Linked DNA regions of Homo sapiens: regions 1, 2 and 3 are each linked to region 4. Evidence: promoter capture Hi-C in 16 types of primary human blood cells and fetal thymus (Javierre and others, 2016). All regions are on one chromosome and are shown on one strand. The core of a region is centred on a gene start or on the middle of the fragment in contact, and the rest is flanking DNA. Distances in the headings are between cores, read along the strand shown.

Region 1 (3,567 bases), core at 541-3,040, 400 kb after region 4:
TGATGCCGCCCCAGCCATGTGGAACTGTGAGACTGAGAATGTGAGTCCATCAAACCTCTTTTTCTTTATAAATTACCCCATCTCAAGTACGTTTTTATGAGCAGCATGAAAATGGACTAATACAGCCGTCTTGGTTCCAACTGACTTCAGCAAATTTTTTCTTTATCTTACAGCGGAGAGAGTTTCAGCATTTCATCAAGTTGTTTATTTTCTTGTCTGCTATCCTGAAAACTCAATAATTTCTATTAATTACTAGTTTCTTACTTTCGGGGCACAGTTTTAGTAAGTTGTTTCTCTTCTTATCTGCCATGCAGTAAGCCCAAGAATTTATTAATTTTTTTAACCCCTTGAAGCATGGTTCACAACTATATACTTTCCTACAAGGAACTCACTTTAGATCTAAAGAGAGAAATAGATTAAAAGTGAAATGATAGAAAAGTAATTAAAAGAAGGCAGGAGTGGCTCCACTAACATCAGAAAAATAGACTTTAAATTTTTAAAAATAACAAGAAAAAAGGAGGACATATCAATAAAAGTTTTAATACCACAAGAAGATAAAACAATTATAAACATTCACACACTTAATCACAGACCATTAAAATATGTGAAGCAAAAATTGTCAAATGAGGGAGGAGTCCTGGGACATCTCACATATGTTCAGAATATGGAATTTAGTCGCATAGTTTTGGTATAAAACCACTCATCTTCTGTACATTATGTCTCCAAGTCTAGAAACCCTCCGCTTTACACTTTCTGGGAAGTAAACCTCAAATCTGCGGTATGGGAGAAGCATCCAGCATCAAGGAGTGGAGGAAGGATCCACACAGAAATAGCATATTTACAAGGATTGTTCTTGAAAATTATGAGGATCATAAATCACAAAATCAATGCAACCTGAATAAGCTATAAGTTTATTTCTCTTTCAAAAAATTGGAGTATTAAGGAAAAAGGGTGGAGATTATACAATGGCTCTATATTCATCAACCTGCCCCTTCTAGTGTGTTACTTCACACCCTTCAACAGGGGGATACTATCTTGTGATTAATTGCAAATATCACTCTGATATTTGCCAGCTCATCCTTACAAAGAGATAGAATTTACATATACTTCTCCATATTTTGAATCTAGTGTAGCCTTGAGAATTACATTGATTTCTTATAATGTGGTAACATTAATGTTTCCTCTTTTTATATTTGCAGATTTGATTTTCTGAAATTTTATTAAGAATTGTTGTAGCTATATTCATGAGAGATGGATATGTTTTCAAAGTAATGTTGGCCTCATGATGAGTTTAGATATGTTATTTCTAACATATCTCTGGGAGTGTTATATGGTATTTCTAATATAACTCTGGGAGAGTTAGAGTATAACTGGATTCTTCTAAAAATACACCACTGAATAGATTCAAAACATTAAATATTTAGTAATAAATCTGACTAATGTGTAAGCTTTGTACAGTTAAAAAAAAAGTCAGCAAAATAAAAAGACAAGCCACAGGCTGAAAGGAAATTTCTGCAAAGTCATATCTGATAAAGGACTGTTACCAAAATATACAAACAACTCTTAAAACTCAACAATATGAAAGCAAATAACTTAATATTAAAAATAGGCCACATAGCTTAACAGACACACAAAAAATAGCCAAATGTCAAATAAGCATATGAAAAGATGTTCTGCATCAAATGTCATCAGGGCAATGCAAACTAAAATAACACGATACTACCACACATCTATTAGAATGGCCAAAATCCAGAGCACTGGCAATGCAAAATACTGGTGAGGATATAGGGCAACAAGCATGTTCATTTAATTTTTATGGAAATGCAAAATGGCACGGCCACTTTGAAAGACAGGTTAGCCTTGTCTTACAAAACTAAATTCACTATTACAATATGACCCAGCCATCACACTGTGTAGTATTCACCCAAAAGAGTTGAAAACTTATATCCACGAAAAAACCTATGCCCTGATATCTGTAACACCTTTTTCATAATTACCAAAACAGAAGCAATCAAGATGCTCTTCAGTAGGTGAATGGATAAAGAAAGTGTAGCACATTTAGACAATAGAATATTATTCAACACTATACCCCAGATTGAGTTTTCTTTCCTAGGGCTTCGACTCAAAGCTTGGAATTGAGTTTGGGACAAAAGAACTGCTTCGGCGGGTTGTGTGGACACTTTACAAGCCAAATGCTAAGGTGAAGCTGTGGAACTGAGTCCTCCTCCAACAAGAGAGAGAAAAGGGTGTCTTGTGTACTGAGTCCTGGCCTAGTATAATGTCTTCTCAAAGGAAAAAAGGCCTCTGGCATAGAGAAGTCCCTTCTACTTGCAGGAGCGTGTTATTAGGTTGGTGCAAAAGCATTCATGGTCCCCATCATGCTAAGTAATGTCAAATAACACAACTACTTTTGCACCAACCCACCAACTCCTGACCTGGTGGAGAAAAGAAAAAATACAGCTTAAAGTGCAGGGATGTGTTAAGTGCTGATGGGGTGAAGAAAAGAAAATAAAACATCTTAAGTACAGAGTTGGAAAGATGCCTGGGGGAAGAATCTCCTATTCTTATGCAAATGTGTTCCTCCAACAGGGAGAGAAATTTTACTTGCTGTTGGACTGGAGAGAAACTTTTCGATGCTGCTGGGAATGCTGGCCAGCGTGCTGTGTGGAGCCCTTGGGCCAGGTGCCCCAGCCCCAGCTGGGTGGAGGTGGGCAGGGAGTCACCACTCACCTATCTGTCTTGCATGCATGCCTGTGACCATTGGGGTGGTGGTGGAACACCCCCAATATTGTAAAAGAAAAGATAGGTGCCATTACAATCCCCCCCAAAAGAAGGAAAATGCCATAGAAAAGACTGGGTTGGACTGAGGTTGACATTCGCAATCCCCAAGGCAACGGAAGTGGAGGGTCACAGTTTTCTCTACCTTCAGAAGATGTCTGAGGGCAAGAAAAAGCTGAGAAACAAAAGGGAAAGAGGTTTTGTGGGGGATTCTGCATTTGATTCACCCTTCCTCATGTCCCCATACAGGCCACCAAAATGATGTGGGATATTTTGCTCCTTAGTTTAGCTAAAATCCACGTTCTTGCCTCACAACCAGGAAAAATTAGGCACATGGACACTTTGAAGGGTGAGAAGGACAGATTTATTAGGCAAAAAGAAAACTCTCAGCCAAGAAAAACGGGGTCCTGCCAACAGGCTCACACCTCATTGAATACCAGGCCACCACACTCAAGCTGAAGAGGCCAGCCTTCTCCTAACTACATAAGGCACCAATTCCCAGTGGCTCCACTCATTCTCCCAGTGCCCAGGCAGGCCCTCAGTTTATGGCAGGCATGCCCAGACAAGACCCTGGGCAGGTTCCCTCATCTTCACAAAAGTATCTGATATAAACACTTATGGGGTGTGTCAGAGATTCAAGGAAGATAAGGGGACCCTCTTTTTGGTAGATCTTTTTGGTAGAAATTTAAAAATTTATCCAAAATATTACATACATATGCAAACAACCAAGATAGCCAAAATGATTTCAAAAAGAACAAAACTGAAGGCATCAAACCTCTTGATTTTACG
Region 2 (3,442 bases), core at 50-2,549, 320 kb after region 4:
AAGAAAATGGAATATTACAAGTCTATGGCATCAAATATTATCACTTGGAAAGAAGCTTATATTTAAGGCTGAGCTTTCTCAAAGTAGATGTATAAGGTAAAGAGCACTGTGCTAAGCATGTGAAATACAAGTACTGCACATGCTATAAGGCTATAACATGGTAAGATCCATATTGAGGATCTTAAAGAAAGAAAATTACAAGGTTGTATCCTTTAATTATTATCTTGAATTATACAATAATCAGCAAATCATGAAGTTCCCATGACTGTCCTAAATAAATTTATCTCTTAAATCCTCATGTCACTTGGTGCTGAAAACAAAGGTAGGCTCTGATCTCGCAGTTTATTATACAGCAATATTGGTTAAATTTACATCCTTCCCAGATATCTTTTGTGAAAGTTAATTGATTGGAAATCTGAAAGGATCCCAACTGGGAATTACATATATGTGTGTATGTATTTCATATATGTAAATATAAATCTAAAACTTAGAGGAATTGCAATATGGAACAGCTTTATTGTATGCAATTTACTTACATACCCCTTAGCTATGTAACTGGAGAATACCCAGAGGAAAATCTTTTGGCAAGATATTAAAATATTCACAAGGGTATTTGCTAGCAGCTTTAAAAAGTATTGTAACCACTGGTTTGAAATGAAGATGGAAGATGCTTTTGTTAAAATGAACTCCCTGATTTCAGTGGACATGATGGATCATGGAAAGTCAGAGGCTATGTAATAGCACTTAACTGATATGAGCATATTCAGTGTGGTTACTTATTGGTCAGTATGGCCGAAGTAGTTATCAATATTGCATGATGCACTTTAGTAGTGAACAACAGATTATGAAGTTCCTAGGACTAAAATAAACAGGCAGCTCATTAGGTTTCTAACTGGTCCATATAATTGAAAGAACTCTAGGATAAGTGAAAGGAAGAATGAATTAGCCATCATAATGGAGTTAAAGCTCCTTATTCAATTACAGACTTCAATCCTTTCATAGAACCAGAACCCATGAAGAAAGTTGTCTTTGCAAAACTGTCATGCATATTAATATCCAAATCTTCCGCTAGTGTCCTTCAATAGATATGTGGTCCTTTCCCAAGAAAATCGTACAGTGAAATCAATGAAACATGGATTTTTCAGAGGTTATTCCACCTCATTTCTGAGCTAAGCTTAATTACAATGACTATAAAATGCCAGTGTGTTTACTTATAAGAGTGGAAGAAATTGGAGTCAGAGACATTTTCCTGATAAGTTATGATTATGTGCTAGTCTGTTTTACAGTGAACCTAGTGCATGTGCAAAGTTGTCCTGTGCATACAGTTAAAACACATATATTCAGGGCCAAGTGGAAAACCATATGGTCTCCCTCACTAAGAGATAATAAACAGACAGCATCATTATATCCTTGGAAAAGCTTCAAAGCTAGTGCCACCATCAAAGACTTAAAAAACAAAGATGCAGGAGTGGTGACTTAATCCACATACCCATTGAACTCAACTGTCTGCCTCTCCTAACACAGATAAATTTTAGCAGATGATAATGAACCCATAAGTTAAATTAGGTAGTAAATTCAATTGCAACTGTCTTTTCAGTTATGGCCCATTTACTAGAATAAATCAAAAATAATTCTGGCACTAAATATCCAGTTATTGATTTTGGGAATGAATGTTTATGGATTAATAGATAATACAAGAATTTATTGGCACAACCTGCAAATAAAATGGTATACCTTTGTACTCTAGCCCTTTGCCATCATTTATTCCACAGGCCAGCAAACCATAGCCCACAGGCCAAGGATTGTTTTGGTACAGACTTCCACCTGAGATCCTGAGATGTATTTTACATTTTTAAAGGGTTGTTAGAAGAGAAAGGAGAAGGAAGGGGAGGTGGAGAAGAAAAAAAAGGAAGAGAAGCAAATCAGAAATGTATGATGATATGCTAAGTAATAATTTAAAAACTTGTATCAGATACAGAATCAGAATTTCTTATGTAAAGTATTTTAAAAGACACATTGAAGAGAATTATGGAATTTTATTTTATAAGTAGACATAGCCTAGTTTTCCCTTCCCTATGACAACAGGTCTCCATCAGTAATATGTTTTCTTGAAGATATCACCCCCTTACTCTGTTCCAAAACAGATGGTGTTTTAAAAATATGGGAAAAAGTAACCCATTATCAAAAGAAAGTTGAATTAAAAGAGAAATTTGGAAATTGACTGTTTGAAATTCTTTCCACGATTTTTGTTACTGGAAATTATTTAAACTCATTAAATATAAAAATACTCATCTACTCATTAGAAAACTTGAAAACATAATCATTTTAATATTTTAAAACATTTGTGTGCTTTTAGAAAATTACATAAAAATGCAAAATCAAGACAGCTGATTAACATTAATGTAGTCAATTTCAAAAAAAAAAGCATATTTGAATGGGATTGAAGAATAATTATTGTGATTTCCAGTTCATTTAAAATGGATCCACATTATTGTGAAGCATTAACTTTGCACTACAACAACCCACATAACTAAGTACAAGGTAAAATAAACTGTAATAAGACTTGCAGTTCATTTCACACAATAATTACATAAGTATTTGCAAGTATAATAAAGTATGCTGAATTAAAATGAAACTAATATTTGTACCATAAGTAAAATTAAAAGTTATACTGTAAAGTTATATTATTAAAATATATTGATCATTTTGTATAATTTCCTTTATTAATTCCTATTTTTCTATTAAAATTTCAAAATATTTTATACTATTGTTTATATATAAATTATAAACTGATAAATGTGCATGTACCATGAAAAATATACATATATTTACTAATTGAATGTTTGATAAACACCAGTTGCACACTTACACTTATAAAAAGAAAAGCAAGTCCATAATTTTTGAGAACACAGTAATCTTAATATTTGAAGGTAGCATTTATTTTTCTTATAAGCAATTTTTTCTCAAGCTCCATGTCATTAGTACCCTAAATATTTTCTCATATGACATAATTTCTAAATTTATGATAATATTGACTATTCTTTTACTTCAAAAGATTTTTAAAGGATAAAACTAAACAGAATTTTTGAGATATGTATGATACAATGGGACTTTATTGTATCATACAATTGAATTATCTCTTCAATGCTCATAAACACTCCATATTTATAGTAAACTTGTAGTTTTCTAACACCTAATTTTTTTTTCATATTGCCTGTCATCAAGTCCAATCTATTAATTATTTTATAGTAGACATCCTTAATCTAGGCTTACATTTTTATATTAAGCCCTATCAAATGCCACATTTTAATCTTATTTTATAGATGAACATATTAACTTCACTCATCTCCTGTCATTTGCTGCCTTATTTATTTTATTTATTCCTTACTAGGCACCGGCTTGGATGAAGAGAATGTAGAAAACTATGAGATTTAGAGTTCGT
Region 3 (3,753 bases), core at 573-3,072, 380 kb after region 4:
CAAAAACATATCAAAGAAATACAGCTATGTACTTACTCTTACTCCCAGACCCTGGTGGGGAGATTTGGCAAAATATCACTGATTATGCATGATGTGACCTTCTGCTGCAGTATTTCAGGGATGCTATACCATCAAATAGAATGCGTTTTCTTAAATATTAGGTTGGTGCAAAGTAATGGCAAAAACCCGCAATTAATTTTGCACCAACCTAAACATTCTCAATGTGGTATATTCATTCTGGCAGTACCTCCACACTGATGGAAGAGCACTCCCCAAAACACATGGCTTTCATCTCTGAGGCAGCATGAGTGGCACAAAAAAAGCATACATATTTTTTTAGGAGGGAGAGACAATGTCTAAAACTCCTGCCTTTTGGTTTGGCATGGGAATCGTGGGAGGCGAGAATAGCAGTCCCATCTAACGCATTAGTTTCAAAACTGATCGATCTTGTAACCTCTTTTACTTGCCTTACTCTATGTCCCAATGAATTTACCATATTGACCTGACAGTGAAAAGAAAATGTGTCCGGAATGGAGCAATGGGGATCATTCAGAATGAAAAATATTTTCATTTCTTGAAGACAGTAGAAGAAAAATACATTTTTTAATGTTTTTGACCAATTACTTTAATTAATTCCATTGGAAATTTGGGGTTTTCTTCCCGTGCCTATTTTTTTAATGCTGCTAGCAATTGAATAATAAATAATGAATAAAGTGAATGCTATTTTGGGGGTTTATGGAGGCTACTATGTTCCATGCACTGTGCCTACCAATATTACAAAGGCCTAATTAGTCACTGTCCATTTGAGGAGCTTAAAAAGGATTACTATGGCAAACATCCATAGAGTTTAATAATAATTTCAGTTGTATGATGGGTTCCAATTAGCAACTTTTAGTTTTATGCATTGGAACAGGTGATATAACTGACAGCAATAGGTATCTCTGGAAATGTCTTTAACAACTGAAAACCAACTTGCACATTAAACACTCATTGTTTTTAATATACTCCTCTTGAGACAAATATAATTAAGCTGCACAGTGGATGTATTCCCTATGGTCTCTAGTAGAAATAAAAATACTGCCTATTCTATCACTGTGCTATAATTTAGAGCCATAGGAAGTCTAGGAGCCCAAAAAGGAAAAGAAAGCTTACCTTGTGGTTCTAGGTATGTTCTCCTATTTGTAATTTCTTGCAAATTTACACTGAGGTTGTAGAAAGGAGATTCTGTCGATTTTGGCTTTCTTGGATCTTAGCTTTGTAATTATTTGCTTATTCTGTTCAGATCAAGTAAAATATGTACATAAATACATAGATAAACAGCTGGAAATATATTCCCTTTTAAGCCCTTAAGTGTAGCTTTAAGGAAGGTTATAGAATTTGGAAGACCAGAGTATAACACCTTTACATCTGAATCTATTAATTTTTATGTGACTCCTTTAAAATTATAAGTCTTCATATATTGCTTGCATAATAGCTTCTGTATATAATTAGTGATAAGACAAAAACAAAAGATTCAGAATATGCAACTTAAAAACCATTGTTTTTTCCAAATGTTTGTGAAAATTGCATATAATCCATAACTTAAAATCAGGAAGAAATATGTATTCGATGTAATTGTGTAGTTTAGAAAGATTTAACAGAAGAAATCCAGGTGTCTAGATTCTCATCTCAGACTACTGATTCTAGGAAAGCTCCTTTGCTGTGGTTCAGTAGAGAGATGTGTTAGGTGACTGCATTCCCATTAACCTGCCTTCTTTGTTGTCTGCACAGATGTTTAGCTCTGAGCCCACCATAGATGGAAATCAGTCCCTGTGTGCCAAATTCACATTTGTGGCTTTTTCTTCTATAGAAGAATTACAGCTTGTACTCTTCATTGTGTTCTTAATCATCACTTATGCACTATAGGAGGAAATATCATCATCATCTCCCTGATCTGGATCACCCCTGCCCTGCACACTCCAATGTATTTCTTCCTGGTGAACCTCTCATTTCTGGAGATGTGCTATACCACCAGTGTGGTGCCTCATGCTGGTGCACCTGCTGGTGGAGACCAAAACCATAAGTGTGGGTGGCTGTGCAACCCAGATGTACATATTTGCCATCTTGGGACTGACAGAATGCTGCTTGCTAGCAGCTATGGCTTACGATCGCTTTGTAGCTATTTGTTACCCACTGCATTACACTCTCTTCATGGGCCCTCGTGTTTGTTTGAAATTGGCTGCAGCATCTTGGTTCACTGGAGTGGTGGTGGAGTCAGCCCAGATCACCCTGATCTTCACTTTGCCTTTCTGTGGAACAGGAAAGATTCAACACTTTTTTGTGACATAATGCCTGTACTGAAACTGGCTTGTATTGATACCTCCCAAATTGAAATTGTGATGTTTTCTCTCTCCGTGCTATTTATTGTGAGTCCTTGTTTCCTCATTCTGTGCTCCCACATGCACATCCCTGTGACCATCTTGAGAATCCCTTCAGCAGCTGGAAGACACAAAGCTTTCTCCACTTGTTCTTCTCATATCTTGGTTGTTTCTCTGTTCTATGGCACTGCCTTGTTCACTTATCTGCAACCTAAGACTGCACACACTCCAGAAACAGACAAAGCAACTGCACTCATGTACACAATGGTCACACCTGCTTTGAATCCTGTTATCTATACCTTGAGGAACAAGGAAGTAAAGGAAGCCTTTCAAAGGATAACCCAAAGGAACTCTCTTAGACAAACGGCCTAAACCAGTCATAGTAGCTGAAACCTATGCTACTGTACAGAGAGGTTACCCGATTTTATGATTCTTCTACCAACATATTCTTTTATTAAAGCATTTATAGCCTAGCTACCAAAAAACATTTGGATTTGTCACACATTTTTCAATGTCTGTAAGTAAAAGGAAACTACACAGTAGATTCATTCAATTGTTAATCATTCATTCATTCAACAGTATTTACAGGGCATCTCATGTGTCAAGCTACCATTTTCTCCTTCTCCAGTGGTAATAGCATTAAGTCCAGTATGTTTCATGCCATTTTCCTGAGGAAAATGAAATATCCTTTATGAGTATAAAACAAAAAATGAAATAAACAGGAAGTAATACTATTTTAGTATCAAATATAGTCTATTAGAATTTAAGTTCTTAATTGGAGTATGCTCCTTTAATTAGTGTGCTCTCTGTACATCTTAAGGTCATACATATTAAATAACCAACTGTTAATAAATACTAATGAGTGGTGTACACCATGAAAGAACTTTAAATATTTAGTTTGTAAATCCAGTGAGAGACCTGAATTCTTTATCTGAAACATGAGTTTTCCTTTGCTCTTATCCACCTGTTTTTTGTTGGTTTGTTTATTTGTTTTTCATGTGAGTAAAGACTTAGGGAAATGTCTGCCTTTGAGACATACAATCTTATTACACCTATTGTAAACCCTGTTTAAATGTATTGATTTAAATATAATTTTCTTTTGTCACGGTGTATATATTCTAGCTAATATATATTGTTTTTGTCTCTTTGAATAATAAAAAGCAAGTCTTCTATAAGACACTAAAACAAAGAACTTTAAAAAACTGTTGGTTTCTTATGGCAACTTTAGAGAAGTTGACAAAAATGTAAATGTTCAGAGACATTTTGTCAACCTGAAAGTTTTTTGATTTTATCTTAGTGTTGATACTCTAGAGTCAAACTCTAATACAAGTGCAATTAATTTATTTGAAAGAAGCTTGGAAGTGGGAAAACGATACACATGAGTTAAGAAAAACAG
Region 4 (3,708 bases), core at 345-2,844:
TTTCTTCCCCCCAACATTAACTTTATTTCTCATTGATCCCATTCATTGCCCTACTTCCTTTTTGTGCCTAACTCTTCTCAGAATTGTCATTTTTCTTACTCTTCCCTACCTTTTTTTCATATAAATATAGCAATTTCTCATTTTTCTTCAGGTTCAGCTTCCTTAATTCCCTTGAAGCAAAAAAAGTATCATCTTCCCACTTCTTTCCAGTGGACCCTCCAACTTCTTAGCCTATGTCTGTCTGTTAGATTCAAAGATTTGTGTATTAGGGTTATGCTATTCTGTCCTTTGAAACATTCTACATACTTTCTAGGGGTCAGTAAATATTAGATTAGAATATTTCCTCAAACACATTCAGAATCTTTAGATCTAGAATTTTGCTTCCTGTAAGGATAGGGAGATTCTATTAAATTCCAAGGAAATGTTAGGATCTTAAGAATATTTAAAGCAAGAACTTTTAAACCAGGGATCTACTAATCCCTAGATTAGATTTACTATGTCTGTGAATCCATTAAATTATGTGTAAAACATTTTGTGTATGTGGGCATGTGAATTTTATGGGGAAAATGTACAAAACTATGATACAGGATTTTCTGGGAGATTCCATATTTGGGTACTTCATGGGCATTTCAAGTTTCTACTTTATTTGTGAGCCCATGCAGTTAAAGAGTCACATTATCTGGGAGTGCCCTTATTGATTTATTCAAGATTTCTTTCTAGTTATGTTTTTATAAATGTTTATAAGGCAGCAGCTTTAAAGCATTCTTGATTAAAATTCATTCTAAATTATATATATTTTAATAAACACATATAGATCTCACTTAAAAGTTTTATAGAGCGTTCCTTACCACATAAGGTATAATATATATATATATATGTATTTTGAGCCACAGTCTTACTCTGACACCCAGGCTGGAGTGCATTAGCATGATCATGACTCACTTCAGCCTTGACCTCCTGGCCTCTAGTGATCCTTCAACCCCAGCCTCCTGATTAGCTGGGACCACAGGCATGCACTACCATGCCTAGCTAATTATTATTTTTTATTTTTTGTGAAGATGGGGTCTTGCTATGTTGCCCAGGCTGGTTTTGAACTCCTGGGCTCAAATGATCCTCTCACTTTGGCCTCCCAAAGTGCTGAGATTACAGATGTGAGGCACTGTACCTGACCCATGTGATAAAATCTGATATTTTCTATTTACTTTTTAAAATGCTGGTTGAAGCCCACTAAATTGATTTTATAACCTCCTATTGGGTTGCAGTCAACAGTTGAAATCAGGGATCAAGAAAAGTTATTGTAAATAACTTAGGGAACAAACTTTAAATATACAGCTGAGAGAAGAGGGTCCAGAGAAGTTAGCTTGGAGATGGGTTGGTGGTGCTGGGGATGGTAGCCAGAGAGCATCAGCTGCAGATGCCCTCTCCTCCTGGTTACTAACCTGGAGTCTTCAGGGAGTGGTTGAATATTCACATCTGCATCAGTTTCAGTCTTTACAACTCCAGAGAAGTAAAATAAATGAAGCTATAAACAGGTAACATACTTCCTGACTTGACTATCCAAATGACTATTGTGAGATTTTAATCCTAAATATTCTTGGTGGCAAATTAAAATTAGAAGGCAATATAATTACAAAATAGTATAAGAATTATTGCATTTTTTGTTTTACCTTTTCTGCCACCAAGTTCTATACTACATTTCATAGAAATACACAAATTTCCAAACTTTTCCTGGTAAGAAGTAGTCCGCTGCTTCTGTTTCTTATCATTTCAGTGGGGATTTGCTGATCTGTTATTCAACTAATTAAACAGGAGCTGAATCAGAGTTTTTGGACATCCTCTTTTTAAAGCATAGCCAATAACTAGGACACTAAAACAAGGACTTTGAGAAGCAGAGTAGTCTTGAATTTTTCTGTTGTAGGAGAAATAAACTGATGATCTCAGAAGGCATAATATGAACTCCCTGTCCTACCCCAGATTAAACTTTACCCAGAGTGACACAGGTTATACCTGCTCTATTGAGAGAATGCACTGGGGATCAGTCGAGTGAAGAAACACAAGTTGCCTGGGGGATCCTCATCTGGAACAGGCTAATGAATGTCCTTTGTGAATAACTTTGGGAACAAACTTTAAATAGACAGCTGAGAGAAGAGGGTCCAGGGAGACTAGTTTGGAGACACATTGGTGGTGGTGGGGGAGGTATCCAGAGAACATTAGCCACAGAGAAGAAGAGTATGGAGTAATTATATTTTTCTTTCTCAGGTGGGTGGTCATAGCTGGACTTGGCTATGGACAAACAGGTTAGGTGGAAAAATTTGGAGGTCCTAAAAAGCCACATTTTCTTTTCTTAACTTTTATATTAGGTTCAGGGGTACATGTGCAGGTTTGTTATATAGGTAGACTTGTGTCATGAAGGTTTGGTGTACAGATTATTTCATCACCCAGGTACTAAGCATAGTACCCAGTGGTTATTTTTTTCTGATCTTCTTCTTATTCCTCTTGCCTTCCTCCCTCAAATAGGCCCCAGTGCCTATTGGTCCCCTCTTTGTGTCCATTTGTTTTCATTTAGCTCCCACTTATAAGTGTGAACATGTGGTATTTGGTTTTCTGTTCCTGCATTAATTTGTGTATAATGGCTTCCAGCTCCATTCATGTTCTTGCAGAGGACATGATCTTGCTCTTTTTTAATGGCTGCATAGTATTCCATGGTGAATTGGTACCACATTTTCTTTATCCAGTCTACTATTGATGGACTTTTAGGTTGATTATATGTCTTTGCTATTGTGACCAGTACTGCAATGAACATAGGTATGGTTTTGCTGTGTCTCCACCAAATCTCATCTTGAATTATAGCTCCCATAATTCCCTCATGTTGTGGGAGGGACCCAATAGGAGATAATTGAATCAGGGGGTGGTTTCCCCCATACTTTTCTCATGCTAGTAAATAAGTCTCACAAGATCTGATGGTTTTATAAGGGGAAACTCCTTTTACTTGGCTATCATTCTCTTCTCTTGTCTGCCACCATGTGAGATGTGCCTTTTCCCTTCTGCCATGATTGTCATGCCTCCCCAGCCATGTGGAACTGTGAGTCCACTAAACCTCTTTCTTTTGTAAATTGCCTAGTCTTGGGTATGTCTTTATCAGCAGTGTGAAAATGGACTAATACAGTAAATTGGTACCAGAAGTGGGGTGCTGCTGAAAAGATACCCAAAAATGTGGAAGCGACTTTGGAACTGAGTAACAGGCAGAGGTTGGAACAGTTTGGAGGGCTGAGAAGACAGGAAAATGTGGGTAAGTTTGGAACTTCCTAGAGTCTTGTTGAATGGCTTAGCCCAAAATACTGATAGCAATATGGGCAATAAAGTCCAGGCTGAGGTGCTCTCAGATGGAGATGAAGAACTGGTTGGGAAATGGAGCAAAGGTAACTCTTGTTATGTTTTAGCAAAAAGACTGGCAGCATTATCCCCCTGTCCTAGAGATTTGTGGAATGTTGAACTTGAGACAGATGATTTAGGGTATCTGGCAGAAGAAATTTCTAAGCAGCAAAGCATTCAAGAGGTGACTTGGGTGCTGTTAAAGGCATTCAGTTTTGTAAGAGAGTAGAGCATAAGAGTTTGGAAAATTTGCAGCCTGATGATGTGATAGATAGGAAAATCCCATTTTAGGAGGAAAAATTCAAGCTGGCTGCAGAAATTTGCAGAAGTAACAAG

The links. Contacts are between HindIII fragments. The CHiCAGO score rates a contact against its expected background, and 5 or more counts as called.
Region 1: a fragment that was not itself captured here is called in contact with the fragment with the promoter of OR2AP1 in region 4 in 4 of 17 cell types (M2 macrophages, M0 macrophages, M1 macrophages and 1 more); the score reaches 7.2 in M2 macrophages.
Region 2: a fragment that was not itself captured here is called in contact with the fragment with the promoter of OR2AP1 in region 4 in 5 of 17 cell types (M1 macrophages, M0 macrophages, total B cells and 2 more); the score reaches 8.3 in M1 macrophages.
Region 3: a fragment that was not itself captured here is called in contact with the fragment with the promoter of OR2AP1 in region 4 in 7 of 17 cell types (naive B cells, M0 macrophages, naive CD8 T cells and 4 more); the score reaches 11.5 in naive B cells.

The regions. Positions count from the first base shown.
Region 1 is chr12:55,172,631-55,176,197 of GRCh38, reverse strand. No RefSeq gene overlaps it. Among named protein-coding and RNA genes, the nearest start is that of OR10A7, 47 kb to the left of the region's middle. RefSeq lists enhancers at 2,958-3,567, 2,838-3,567. The HindIII fragment of the contact is 680 bases long and covers 1,451-2,130 here.
Region 2 is chr12:55,251,394-55,254,835 of GRCh38, reverse strand. It overlaps OR6C74 (olfactory receptor family 6 subfamily C member 74), which reads right to left. Exons shown (of 2, transcript NM_001005490.2): 2 at 1-3,442. Among named protein-coding and RNA genes, the nearest start is that of OR6C74, 8.5 kb to the right of the region's middle. The HindIII fragment of the contact is 245 bases long and covers 1,177-1,421 here.
Region 3 is chr12:55,192,834-55,196,586 of GRCh38, reverse strand. It overlaps the pseudogene OR10U1P. Among named protein-coding and RNA genes, the nearest start is that of OR10A7, 26 kb to the left of the region's middle. The HindIII fragment of the contact is 1,346 bases long and covers 1,150-2,495 here.
Region 4 is chr12:55,570,354-55,574,061 of GRCh38, reverse strand. It overlaps OR2AP1 (olfactory receptor family 2 subfamily AP member 1), which reads right to left and starts at 1,594. Exons shown (of 2, transcript NM_001258285.2): 1 at 1,440-1,594. The HindIII fragment of the contact is 11,201 bases long and covers 1-3,708 here.